Regions from separate parts of the Homo sapiens genome. Here regions 1 and 3 are each linked to region 2. The links are contacts of gene promoters, found by promoter capture Hi-C in blood cells and fetal thymus (Javierre and others, 2016). All regions are on one chromosome and are shown on one strand. The core of a region is centred on a gene start or on the middle of the fragment in contact, and the rest is flanking DNA. Distances in the headings are between cores, read along the strand shown.

Region 1 (4,672 bases), core at 501-3,000, 3.8 Mb before region 2:
GCTAAAAAATAATTTCGTCACAAGATGACTAGAATCATAACATATGCATCATTTTAAAAGTTGATGGATACTATAAACAACTTTCACACATAATTCCTTAAAATAAGAATACTAGTCCTACTAATTAAAAATAAAACAATTAGATATAGAGAAAGCTCTACAATGCATGAAGTATAATTTAAATTGTCTAAATTATTACATAACATTTAATTTCAATGGGAGTTTTACTTCGTATCAGGGTCCAATCTCGAGGAAAACGACATCCCTAAAATGTCCTTGGTTTTCATAAAAGTGAATGCCATCCGATCAGCAACCCCTGAAATTTACCTAAGTGCCACGAATCCAGATTGTTCAAATAAGGTAATAGAAAACACAGATGTGAAGGTAATATTTTGTTTTTAAGTGTCTGGCTATAGTACTTCATGACAGTTTTAAACTGTACAAATTGGCAATAAGAATACCAGTTCTCCTCCAAAGTTGGAACCTGGCCAAGTATAGCAAAATTCTTAAGCATTTTCTTAAATCCAATGAGCAGACTTTACACCTTATGCGGTAAAATGGTCATGGCTTTTTCTAATTATATCCAAAGTACAAGAGGTCCTATTTAATTATGAGGAGGATTAATAGCAGAAATCGAGGGAAGAAATACCTCGTTGGGGTCTGTATGGTATGTTTACGTAATGTCAAATATGGTTCATCTTTTAAGGAAACTCAATTCAGTTGTTGGAAAACAAGTGCACAACATGTAAGAACGTCAATAGCGTTCCTTGGCCATTAAAGGGCTACAGGCTCAATGTGTTAAACGAATATATATACACACACATATATACACATATACACACACATAGATGTATACATATATACACGCGCACACACACACATATATCTCAAACTGGGTTACGGGACTTCACACAATTAGTGACACTGAAACCTAATCTCTTTTAAGGCGTTATCCTATTTAATCCACTTCAGAATGTAAGTACCAAGCTCTGCGTTCAAGACCCTGGGTTGTGACGGAAAGTCCTTCCATTCTTTATGGGACTTTAAACATTTCAGAGGTGGATCGAAAAAGCCACCAAGTCGTAATTTGTTGGTTCAAAAGAACTAACAGTACCATCCCTGGGTGACGGGTAAAGAAATAACGAACACAAAGACTCGTCATGAGTCGGTCTTCCAGAAAGACGCTGGCCCGAGACCGTTCAGCGTATTTCTTCACACATAACCTTGGAAAATCTCCTCAATTCTGAGAGGACTAGCGAAGGATAAAACCCTGTGCCAGTCCCGAGGGGTCATTTCGCACCCGGGTGCATGGGTGGGTGAACACGGGCGTGTGGGCGGAGAGGCAAAGCCCAGGTGCGGGGGCGCCAGCAGCGTCACTATAGTAATGAGAGAGCTAGCGTCATCAGGGGCTGGAGAAGGGGCAGTGGGCCACACAGGCCTAAGGGAGGAACACGTGGCCCGAGGAAGCGAGCCGGCTCCCAGGGAAGCCCGGAGCGGGGAAGTGGCTTTCCGGAGGGCTCGCGGCGTGAGTGGGGGAGGGGTGGGTACTCACTTCGATAATCTTCTCCTTCTTTTTTTGCTCCGCCTTTTTGCTGCCCCCGGCCTGAGCCTGTTTCTTGGGGGGCATTGCGGAGACAGATGGCACCGGCCAGACTTACGCGCAGCTGAATACCGTCAGGGGTTCTGGCCCTGCGGCAGGACGAGGAGGAAGACCGGGGCCTCACTCGCCGCACCGCACGGAAAGCGAGTCGCTCATTGGCCCCGCAAACGCGGCCTTTGCGACAGGTCGATGTCGCAGAGCATAGTGGGTAGCGAGGAGCGGCTCCCGGAAGCGGAGCTGCGCGTGCGCGCCCACTGCGTCCCACTAGGAGGGGGCAGGGACGGGACGTGGGAAAATGACTACGCGTCACTCGTGATGTCGCGCATCCGATAGGCCCTTTTCAGATGGCAAAAGGCCTGAGGGTGAATCTGGGCGAGCTGGTTGAGTCCATGCGTTTGTGCTTCCTCTCAGTCCACTTTCGCTTACGATGGGGCGACTCTTGTCCATCGTCACCTCACCGGGAAACTTTTCCTGCCGGGCCAGTTAATGGTCCCCTGTACCATCCCCATCCTGAGTGACTACTAAGCAGCCGCAGCGACTCGGGGTTGCTCCGTGACCACGTTACTCAGTTAACCTTCTTGTTCCCTGGAGAGGCGGAGCTGAATGGCCCGTGAGTGTCGCGTGCTTCAGATTCCTGCGAAGGATTATTTAAAAAATGGAAAAAGTTAACTTTCATTTGCAGGGTCCCTTTCATTTGAAGAGCATCTGAGATGGCGTCCCAGATAAGGAGGCACTTGAACTCCTTAGAAGTACTGTATTAAGTTATTTTGAGACTTTAGGAGAGTGCCTAGGTGATTCCTAAAAATTCCTTTATAACGTGAAAGTAACCAAACTTAGTTAGAACTTAGTTTAAGTGCTTGGTAGCTCCAGAAATTCCTTGGCACATTACACACACTATTTCATTTAGTTATCACAACGACACTTAGGTGGGAGTTGTTACTGTTTTCGTTTTATAGATGAAGCAGAGAAAGGAAGAAAGATGCCCAAAGTTATATTAAGGACAGAGCCAGCAATTGTAATCTTGGCAGTCCGGCTTCAGCCTATATGCCTATTACCTAACATTACAAACTTAGATCCTGTTTGAAAAGGTACTTGAATGATGAATGGGACCCATTGATATTTGTACAAACGAAAATACTATTTTTTAAAAATGTACAATGCTTAGCTGTTATTTTTTAAAATGATTATTGTTTAAACTATTTCTGTTAAGAAGCATTGTGGAACCAAGAATCATCTTTATAGATAAAAGTTTTTTTATCTTTTTCATTAATTTGAATAGGGAGAAAACGATAAGCCCCCCTACTTAGTCAAATTGATTATTTGCTTAGTAATTTTCTACGTAAGATAATGTCAAGGAACCCCAAGTATGTTTTGTGTGTGTATGTGTGTGTGTAGAAGAAATGTGATAGCTACTAAAAAGAATTGTGTCGAGAATGGCAGGTGTATGTTGACACACTTTTTTTCATTTGGGCTCATATTGGCAGGTTAATGGGCTCCCCCCCTTTTACATATTTTCATCTTTATTTTTTGTAATTGTCATAGTTCTTGTCAGAGGATGGAGGGATGCAGCCAGCCCCCTCTTTACTCAGTATTATTATCCATTTGATTATTTGGGGATCGTCTCCTTTGAGACTTTGTTTGCATATGGAATGTAGTTGTCTTAACTTCCTACTTTTAGTGCCCCAAAGATGCCCTTTGGGCCTTTGATTTTGAGTAATTTTACTGATTATTATTATGAGGCAAATGAATTATAAGTAACAAATATGGGGAAGTTACAAAGAATCTAGAGTCTCATAATGTTATGATAATGGCTCCAGTTTCATGGTTCATAACTTCTTCTGTCTCCTGACCTTTGCTTTCGGTTTTTTCCTCTGAAGTGTAGCCCAGGTAGAGAACAAAGATCCTTTCTTGCCTCAAGTGGAAAATACACATTTCTGAATATAGTACATGCTCTTATAGCACTCTCCCTCGTACACTATTTCTTCATACATTTTAGAAATAAGGAAGTCCAACTCATTGAATTCACTACTTTTTGAAATAAGGTACATGGTTTTTCCTGGTCTCAAATAGCAAATGGTAGCAGGGCTGGGACTTTTATGTCTTCTACTGCTATTTTTATTGACCTTACAATTCAAACGAAACTTTCACAAAACAGTGCTTAGAAGGCATAGTCCAAGGGTTACAATTCATATACCCAAGAAAGCAGGGCTATAAACTTGAGCGTCAGGATGAGTGAAATACATTAGGAAGTTGTGGGAACAGTGTTAAACCTGAGGTAAATGCCCACCGTAAAAGAACTAAAAGAAAAACTGTCAAACCTGACTGCTTCGATTTGGTAGACAGGCTGTGAATTTACTGCCTTGGATATAGCCATTTGGATAACTTTACATTTATTGGAATGTATCAGATGTAATAGATTAAGGCAGTAGATTTTGTACTGAATAGAAATTATTGTTTGCTATCCAGCATTCTAATGTCCTTCTGTATAGGAAGGAAGCCCTATGTCTCAGGCTTTTAATCTCAAGAAAACAAGACAAAGACTCAAAGTGTAGGAATTTTTCAGGGCATTAGAGTGCATGTATGGTATTACCAGTCCAGTGGCGGCAGGCCAGTGTGGCAAGATCCATACAAGTCCTTACTTCATTCTTTGCTATTATTTCTTGCTTCTTTTATTTCCCAAGCCTGATTTTCCAGGCTTCCTATAGATTCTGTGAACAATATTTCCATAAACATATTTGAAGACATAGCTAGAAGGTGGCCATCTGCAAGCCAAGAGAGAAGCCTTGGAAGAAACCAAACATGCTGACACCTTGATCTCAGCCTACTAGCACCCAAAACTATGAGAAAATAAATTTCTGTTTTTTAAGCCACCCAGTCTGTGGTACTTTGTTATTGCAGCCCTAGTAAACTAAGACAGACTCTGATTGATAATAGACCAAACTGTGCTATGGGGTGGTGGGCAGAGACAAGACTACTAGTTTATCTAAGTAAATTTTTGTCATAAAGATAGGACTCATTTGGCCATATAAATTGCTGATCTGTTTTATGGGTTAAGGCAGTACATATTAGGAA
Region 2 (4,464 bases), core at 892-3,391:
TGACATATGATTATTCTTAAGCATTTGATCATTTAAAGCAATTTAAATAAATATCAAAATGTACCAAAAATATAATCAAATATTTTTAAAAACAAACGTTTACCTACCGGGTTTTTATCAGGATGTAACTTCAATGCCAATTTCTTGAAAGCTTGTCTTATTTCTCTACTGCTTGCAGTTTTGGACACTCCAAGTAAACTGTAAAAATCCTGATCTGTGCCCACTAAAATGGCCATATACACTATCAGAAAACAGAGAATGATCCTTTTCAAGTCTCTGATATAGTCATCTTTATTTAACCAGACTCCCATTCTCTTTCTTATGCAAGTTCTGATTTAAGTGAACATTAAGATTCACTGCTGGTTCCAGTTGATGTAATATGCAAATTTGAGAACTTCTGTCTACATTACTTCAAGGGTGAATCAAGCATCACAAATCTGTCCCCAAAAATATTAATCTAAGAAAGAAAAGCAGGCAGTTAAAATACATTTTGAACTAAACAATAATAGCACAATTTATTTATCACAGAACATGGTCAGCAATACAATCTCCATTAAATGGCAAATCAGTGTGAATGCCCCAGGTTCTATTTTTCACTCTTTCTACATCCATGTAGCTAGATTTGTGAAATCACTGAAGATAGCAGAAAAAAGGTCATGAGTGGTAGTAAGTAGCTTGCACACACACCCTCAGCAATTTATACACTGAGAAAAGACCTCTGACGAGCATCAGAACACAAAGGTGGCAATGAGCTACAGGTGCTTCCTCTTTCTACCCAGTTATAGCGTTGCCTGTAATACCTCTTCCTTTTAGCTACTTCTTTACCTCCTAAAGCTGTCTAATTTTCATTTTCAGCAGAATTCACTTGTAGGAAATGTCCTTGGGAGGGACTAGAAGGAAACATAGGGTTTTTTACTTCTCATATAACCCTACCAGAAATGACAGTGAAATATATTGTTATAATAGACAATCTACACAGCAGTCGATCTTCTTCCCGGAGTTTCCTCAGAAGGTGCTTATACTGAATTTAAGTAGAGGCCATTTTTTAAAAATAGTAGAAAAACAATTGTAAGTTACCAGTGTAATTTTATTGCAAAGTTCATGTTTGGTGTAAGTAGAAACAAAACACAAAAAGAGAAGGGAATCGGTTATTTAGACATACTCTCTGCAGGGCAAAAACAATCATTACTTCATCATATCACATTTCAACCACTATATTTTAGTTCCAAAGAGATCGTAATGCTTTGAAAAATCTAACGCTCCTCGCACCTCATTTCTGTTTTTCATTTAATCCTAAATGTATATTTAAAAATTTTTCTCTTTACCTGTGAATGGTCTTCAGCTCATTTCTAATACTTCCTTTTCATTCCACAAAAATATACCTTTGAAAAATATAATGATGTAGAGATTAACAAGTATCCAAACAAGAAAACAACCATCAGAAAAAGAGAGGGCATAGTCTCAATCAACACTTTGGGATAAGATGTTTCTCGCCCAGGGGTTGTTCTCAGCGTGGGTGTGGCCGAACTGCCCGTGGCCCGAGCTACCGGGCAGGTGGAAGCGCCAGGTAAATGCAAGGCGCAAGCTTTCGCATTGCCATCACTGCAGAGTGGGAGAGGGGAGAGGGGTAAAGATGAAGACACGGGGGAACAGGGCTGTTAAGTGTTGCTGGTGTCTGAAGTCTCAGGTCGGACTTAGGGAGAAAGTGTAAGTAACTGAGAGGGAATCGCTGGGCAGAGGAAGGGTGGTGTGAATAACAGGGAGGAGGAAGGTGGGGAGCGAGAACACAATATCCAGGTCTTAAGAGCGCACAGGAAGGGAGGTTCAGGCGCTCAGCCATTCCGCCCCTCCCTGACCGGAGGGCCCAGGCCACCACCGGCTCCAGCAAAGCCCTAGCCCCGGGCCCATGCCCACCTTGCCATCGCGGGGTCGCTTCCTGTAGCTACTCCCCCATCCTCAAACCCTGGCGGCGGACCCCGCCTGGCCGAGCCCAAGCACCGCGTGCAGGAGAGAAGCACACGCACTCTCCGACGGCCCAGCCGCGGCGCACGGGATTGGTGAGGTGCAGCCACACCGGCGACTACCAGCGCGCGGCCGGTACCGGTAGGTTCCTCACGCGCCGGTCTCCACGGCGAGCCGGGGCGGGGCCTGGCGCGGAGCATTGTGGGAAAGGCGTGGAGGACGCTGCCTGGGGAGACCCGCTGCGGGCCCAGCGGGCGCTGCGGCGGTGGGGTGGAGAGGGCGGTGTAGGTTTAGGTTGACGTGGCGGTGTGCGCGGGATCCGGCTCCGGCTCCGGCTCCAACCCGGAGCTGAGGGAACTGCCCTGGCCAAGCAGCCCGCGCCCCCTCACCAATGCGGCCGGCGCCTGCCGCGGGCGGGGAGGGTGGATGGCGAAGCCCGCCTCTTCCTGCTTCCGTTGCCAGGGTGACGGGGAAACCCAGAGGGTGGGTTTTGGGGTTGAGTTCCCTGAGAGTCTTTTAAAGGGAAGACGGAGCTTTGGAGGATTTGTCTGGGTGATGGGTGGGTGAGACCGAAAGGCGAAATTTGGCGGAGAAAGGAGAAGTTGCCTGAAGCGACACTGATTGCAGTATCAGGCTAGCGGACTGAAGAGGCAGTAGGAAACTTGAAGGAAATTAAAACATTTACAATTTTGTGTAAGCGTGTGTATCAACAAGCATTTGAGACTTCTACAATATTTTCTGGATTCTGAGTCATACAAGCTAGAAACTGGGGAGTTATCGTTGTTCTCTCTTACCTTGATCTCCTACTGCTATGGTACAGGAACTGCATTTTGTCCCACAGCAATATAACAATTGAAGTGGTTATATTTACTACATTTTCTATATTTAAAAGAGAAAACCGAGCCTAGAGGATACCTGCTTATAACATCAACCCTAACATGAAATAAGTTGTGATTGGTAACAGTTTCGGGGAGTAAATCAAGTGTCAGCTTCTAAAAACTTGGAAAACTACACAGGATCTATGGCTAAGCTAATACTTGGTAGGAAAGAAGAGGAAGTAGAATGAACAAAGGCAAACATTAGAAGCAGCCTGATGTAATAGTAGTTAATATGTCTCAGGAACTGGTCTAAGCACACATGTAGTAACTCATTTAGTCCTCCAAATAATCTTACAAGATAGTGGCTCCTATATCTATTTCCCATTTGAGGAAACTGAGGCAAATATTTGAGAGCTAGGATTCACATCTAAGCAACCTGGCTTCAGAGACTATGATGTTAAGCATTATGACACAGTGTGTAACCATTTTGTTACACACTGTAACAAAATCTTAAAGTAAATTGAAAAACAAACAGAAAACTGGAAGATGAAGCAGGGACCAGATCACAGACAGGTTTTTATACCAAGATGAAGACATAGATTTCTATCTCTTAGGTGATGAGGAAGCTTTTAAAAAAGAGACTGAGATTGTATTTTAGATCATCCTGGCAGCTATTGGAGAGAGGATGCAAAGCATACAAAACTGGAGAAAGAACAGGAGAATGTTAGACAAATAGGGTAAATGCTTTAAGAGGTGGTGGGCCGGGTGTGGTGGCTCACGCTTGTAATCGCAGAACTTTGAGGGGCTGAGGCGGGTGGATCACTTGAGGTCAAGAGGTCGAGACCAGCCTGGCCAACGTGGTGAAATCCCATCTCTACTAAAAATACAAAAATAAGCCGGGCATGGTGGCACACCCCTATAATCCCAGCTACTCGGGAGTCAAGAGAATCGCTTGAACCCGGGAGACAGAGGTTGCAGTGAGCCAAGATCACACCACTGCACACCAGCCTGGGTACAGAGCAAGACTCTGTCTTGGGGGAAAAAAAAAAGTAAGAGATGGTGATTGGTTGGATATGGGAGATAAAGGAAAGATTTAAGTTTAACTTCTGACTTCTTATGGCTGAATACTACCCACTGAATGAAGATCTGTTTAGGGAAAAGATAAAGGGTTCTGACTTGGACATATCTAGTTCAAGGTTCCTAGATCATATCTTAGTGAATATACCCTGCATAAAACTCATGGGTAATGTCTAGATTGGAGAAAAAATAGGAGAAAAATCATCAGATCACCCAAAGAAAGTGTGCAGAATAAGTAAAGTTGTGGACCAAGGATTAAAACCTTGGGGAATTCTAACATCAAGAATGAAAGCACACACGGAAAAAGAATCTAAGCTTCATGAAGGTGGATTTTTGTTCATTTTATTTACTGTTATGGCTCCAGCTGTTCTTACTATATGGTAGGTACTACATAAATATTTTTTGAATGAATAAACATTAATTTGAGAAATAGGCTGAAGAAGAAGAACCCATACAGGATGTAAAAAAGAGATGATCAGAGATGGGCAAAAGGAACTAAACATCAAGGAAGTTAGAGTGAGTCAGATAAGATACTGACTGCAACTTGTTAATTAGGTCTGGCAATTAGGAGGTTATAGGGACCTTAGTAAGCACAATTTTGGTGGAT
Region 3 (4,798 bases), core at 267-2,766, 4.2 Mb after region 2:
GGTTTTCTTCAGAAATACATAATATCCTGTTTCTTCATGAAATCCTGTTTTTATTTTACATAAAATCCTGTTTTTTCTTCAAAAATACATAAAAGCCTTCCTATTTCTGTTTGCTTCGTATTTTCCTCATATTCAAGGGGTCTGAAATTATCTCCTAGGAAGGCAATGTGCAGCAGACGGGGTCCTCTGACAAGGAATGGCGAGGGCCCCCAAGGAACTGTCATCACGCCGATAACCTTGGATAGCCACAATTTTATTTAGAATATAAAACATGGAACTCGACTTCGGAATTTTAGTCTAGAAATGGGGACTTCCCCCTAGCTTTTATGATTTTTGAAACTCCTGCTTGGACGCAATTGTCATCTTGCATAATCGACAGTAATTTTCAGGTTTATGGAATTTTGCAAACTTTAAGCAAAGCACATCAATCAGGCTCAGTGCTGCGGCTTTTCTTCGCATCACCGAGGTAGAATAGCACCTCTACTCCCAGAACTTAATCCAGGCGAATGCAGAAGGCCTTTGCTGGTTTTCTGGTTTGGGTAGTCTTTGGGTATTCACTTGGAAACAAGGCGAATTGATGGATGGATAGAGTGATGGATGGATATGTAATAAATATAATATAGTTCAATGACAGGATCCAGATGGTGGGTGTAGGAGAGTTTACTGTAGAATTCAACTTTCTGTGTATTTTAAAGGTTTTCATACTAAAATTGGTGGTGAAGTGGTGTTGTCACACAGATTTGACCAAATCCCTGCTGCGTATTAGCTGTGAGATTGGGACAACATGCCCAATACTCAAGTTTTCTTGACTGATGTGGACAATTACGTATCCCATGGGATGGTACAAAAAAGTCAAAAGAACATTCCCCGCACTACCAGAGGCCCTCGAATCAAGGGCGGCCCCGAGTGGCGGGGAAAAGAAATGCAAGCCAGCGGAGGATGCTGAATTGTGGAGGTCGGCTCTCGGAAACGCCTGCAGCCAGGCAGAGGAGTTGCGGTACCGCAGTTTCGTTGCATCGGGCTGGCCTTCAGGTTGTGCGACTCAGCCTGGAACCTCTGAATGCAAGATTCCGACCTGAGAATGCGCTTCAAGGACACCTCCGAAGCACCCAGAAAGCCACCGCCAGCCTATTTTTTACGCTCCTTTTCCAGCATGCCTCTCCCTCCCCCCAGTATCTATCTGCTCGTTCCCTAGGGGTCTTAGAAGCCTTTTGCTTCCAGAAATGACAACCATATTCCCTGACTCTACGACATCCCAGGCTGTTTATTTCGTCTTATGCCAGTTTCATTTTAGAAAATGCGAATGTTGTCACCGAACCCTGAGGAAACCTGCTGTAAAATACGCGGGTTTAGCGAGAAGAAGCGGAGCGAGTGTGCGTTGCGATCTTAAAGACTGAGGACAGCCAGCCCGAGGGCCTAGAAACAGCGTTAACCGCGCTGAGCCCGCTGCGGGAGGCGGAGGGGTTGGGGCCATGAGAGGGCGGGGCCGCATCTATGGCCCCGCCCCGGCCCTTTGTGACGCAGGACAACGCCTGCCACGCGTCGGAACTCGGCCGCGGGACATCCACGGGGCGCGAGTGACACGCGGGAGGGAGAGCAGTGTTCTGCTGGAGCCGATGCCAAAAACCATGCATTTCTTATTCAGATTCATTGTTTTCTTTTATCTGTGGGGCCTTTTTACTGCTCAGAGACAAAAGAAAGAGGAGAGCACCGAAGAAGTGAAAATAGAAGTTTTGCATCGTCCAGAAAACTGCTCTAAGACAAGCAAGAAGGGAGACCTACTAAATGCCCATTATGACGGCTACCTGGCTAAAGACGGCTCGAAATTCTACTGCAGGTAGGAAATGCTGCGAGCTGCCCGTGCGTCCAGTTGCACAAAATCTTGCCTGCCTCCACCAAGCGGAAGCCTCATTGGTTGGTTGGTTGGGGTTTTATTTTTTAACGGTAAAAGTTGAGCCCTTTATTCATTAAAAAAAATCACATTATATGGCAGTGTTTCTCTAATAAACTGAATATTTTTATTTAAAGTATTGAAAATGTTGTGGCAATAAATTATCAAAAATACGATACATCCACACACACATCAACCACCACCATTACCCTTGGGACCTCCAGAATTAAATCAAGGTTCTGCCTATAAGGATGTTCACATTTTTCCCTTGCCAGAAGTATTGAGTCTTTACGGAGGAATACATGGAATAAAGAGATTTAATTCTGGCCTTCAGAAGCACGATTTTTATAGGTTGTGGCCACTTTCTATCAAGAAAAACAGTTACTTCCCTGGTGACTTCTGGTGGGCCCTGCTCCCTCATTCCACCTGGTGCCTACTCTGATTTAATTGATGGCTTATTACTCAGAGGGAGAATCTTTTCTTTACCCTGTAAAGATAGGACTGGGAAAAACAGTTCCATCCATTTAGAATAAAATAGAGAAATTTAATAAGAATTTATACAATTTTATAATTTAATAAGAATTTAATAAATTATATCATTAGAATTTAATAAGAAAATATACCATTTTAAATTACTATTAAAATGACTTTTTGAGGCTAAAACTGCCCTATCATTTTTTTACAACAAACCCAGGGAGTTAAATGAGTTCTTTGTACAAGCCATGCACCTAGTTAGGGGCTGGAGACCCATTAAAAAGTTAACTGTTGAATAGTTTTTGTAAAGATAACAATTTTAAAAAATGAGATGGCTGTTAATGATTAACTTTGGGCAAATCATACTTCTTTCTGGTGATTATAGGGAAGTTTGAGTCAAACACCCCATTAAGGGTTTTAGAAAGAGTGATTATATGGGAATGATGGTTAGAGAGGACTCCAATTTTAAATGCCCAGCTGTATTTTCAAGTTTGATTTCTTGAAATCAGTTTACTTAAGTATTGCTTTTTGTTATAGCCGGACACAAAATGAAGGCCACCCCAAATGGTTTGTTCTTGGTGTTGGGCAAGTCATAAAAGGCCTAGACATTGCTATGACAGATATGTGCCCTGGAGAAAAGCGAAAAGTAGTTATACCCCCTTCATTTGCATACGGAAAGGAAGGCTATGGTAAGATGTTTAATTTTAATTTCTTGTTTTAGTTATATTTAAAAAATGATTAATAGATTTCTGGGTATATAGGTCTGAAAGAATTGAAAGCACAGTCTCAAAGAAATATTTGTACAGCCATGCTCATAGCAGCCATGTACAATAGACAAGAGATGGAAGCAAGCCACATGTCCATACATAGAGAAATGGATAAACAAAATGAATACATGCATATATGGAAGCCAGGCACAGTGGCTCATGCCTGTAATCCCAACACTTTGGGAGGCCAAGGTGGTAGAATCACTTGAGGCCAGGACCAGCCTGAGCAACAGCAAGACCCTGCTCTACAAAAAAAAAAAAAAAAAAAATGAAATGGAATATTATTCAGCCTTAAAAAGGAAGAAAATTCTGAGACATGCACCAACATGTATCAGCCTTGAGGACATTATGCTAAATGAAATAAACCAGTCACAAAAAGACAAATACTGTATAATTCCATTTATGTGAGGTACCTGGAGTAGTCAAATTAATAGAGACAAAGTAGAAGGGTGATTGCCAGAGGCTGAAGTGAGAGGGAAAAGGGGAATTGTTGACCAATGGGTATAGAGTTTCATTTTTGCCAGATGAAGAGTTCTGGAGATTGGTTGCATGGTAGTGTAAGCGTACTTTACTGAACAACACACTTGAAAATTGTTATGATGGTAAATTTTATGTTATGTGTATTTTACCACAATTAAAAACAAAAAAGTGAAATAAAAAATGATAGATGAAATAAAGAGAACAGTAAAGCCCAATGACCTTAAGCTCTATCTAGTTCAGTCCAGTCCCTTCTTTTTGCTTATAAGGATAATATGACATTGTTTGAATATAGATCTCTGGCCAGAGTTCTTTCTTCTACATTGTGGCAACACTCATGATGATTATATATATTCTATAAGCTCTACCTTAAGCATTTTTATTTGTTTTCAGCATATGTTATTATTACATAAATATTTATAACACAGATCTTTGGTAAGCAGTACCAAAGTTAAATTCATAAAACTCAGAAACTGGAACATGTAGGTTTAGAGTAAAAGGACAGGACGGGCACATTGTAAAAGGAACAGCTGAGATATAATGGGCTGTCAGTCATTATTACCCCAATACAGGACAAGCCTTCAAATGTGCAAGAAATGATCTTATTCTTTCAATATCTTGTCATTTTAAAAATCCTACAGCAAAAAGATCTGAAAACCTAGGTAAAGCAAATAAGCGGGAAAAATGTTTGTAACATGTATGAAGACTTGCTAACCAATAATGAAAATGACATATCCCTAGAAATGGGCCAAATTCATAAATAAGCACCCACTAACAAAAAACTACAAATGGCCTTTAAGTCTATGAGAATACTTAATTTTATTCATAAAGAGAAATTAAAAATGAGACATCATATTTCACTCATCAGATTAGCAAACACAAAACAACTTGGCAAAAGCATGGAAAAACCAGCATTATTGCTGGGAATGGAAATCATTCAACTTCTCTATCAACTGTTATCAAAAGTGAAAATGCAGGCCCGGGTGTGGTGGCTCATGCCTGTAATTCCAGCACTTTGGGAGGCTGAAGTGGGCAGATCACTTCAGGTCAGGAGTTCGAGACCAGTCTGGCCAATATGGTGAAACCCCGTCTCCACTAAAAATACAAAAATTAGCTGGGTGTGGTAGAGTGTGCCTGTAATCCCAGCTACTTGGGAGGCTGAGGCAGGAGAATCGCTCGAACCTGGGAG

The links. The method cuts DNA at HindIII sites, captures the fragments that hold promoters and counts their contacts. A CHiCAGO score of 5 or more calls a contact.
Region 1: a contact is called between the fragment with the promoter of ZC3H15 here and the fragment with the promoter of DNAJC10 in region 2, in 6 of 17 cell types (non-activated CD4 T cells, activated CD4 T cells, total B cells and 3 more). The highest score is 16.7, in non-activated CD4 T cells.
Region 3: the fragment with the promoter of FKBP7 here is called in contact with the fragment with the promoter of DNAJC10 in region 2 in 3 of 17 cell types (total B cells, naive B cells and M0 macrophages); the score reaches 9.8 in total B cells.

The regions. Positions count from the first base shown.
Region 1 is chr2:186,483,338-186,488,009 of GRCh38, reverse strand. It overlaps ZC3H15 (zinc finger CCCH-type containing 15), which reads right to left and starts at 1,750. Exons shown (of 10, transcript NM_018471.3): 1 at 1,553-1,750. The coding sequence starts at 1,627. It overlaps LOC105373785 (a long non-coding RNA gene), which reads left to right and starts at 2,010. Exons shown (of 2, transcript XR_001739147.3): 1 at 2,010-2,210. RefSeq lists an enhancer at 1,641-2,120. The HindIII fragment of the contact is 12,604 bases long and covers 1-4,672 here.
Region 2 is chr2:182,713,934-182,718,397 of GRCh38, reverse strand. It overlaps DNAJC10 (DnaJ heat shock protein family (Hsp40) member C10), which reads right to left and starts at 2,141. Exons shown (of 24, transcript NM_018981.4): 1 at 1,915-2,141; 2 at 1,326-1,382; 3 at 108-457. The coding sequence starts at 311. It overlaps LOC101929976 (a long non-coding RNA gene), which reads left to right and starts at 3,788. Exons shown (of 7, transcript XR_427200.3): 1 at 3,788-4,237. It also overlaps a transcript of PDE1A not described here. RefSeq lists a silencer at 1,749-1,908 and enhancers at 1,470-2,074, 2,419-2,488, 2,509-2,658. The HindIII fragment of the contact is 1,821 bases long and covers 1,588-3,408 here.
Region 3 is chr2:178,475,318-178,480,115 of GRCh38, reverse strand. FKBP7 (FKBP prolyl isomerase 7) reads left to right here and starts at 1,516. Exons shown (of 4, transcript NM_181342.3): 1 at 1,516-1,837; 2 at 2,903-3,054. The coding sequence starts at 1,617. The HindIII fragment of the contact is 11,907 bases long and covers 1-4,798 here.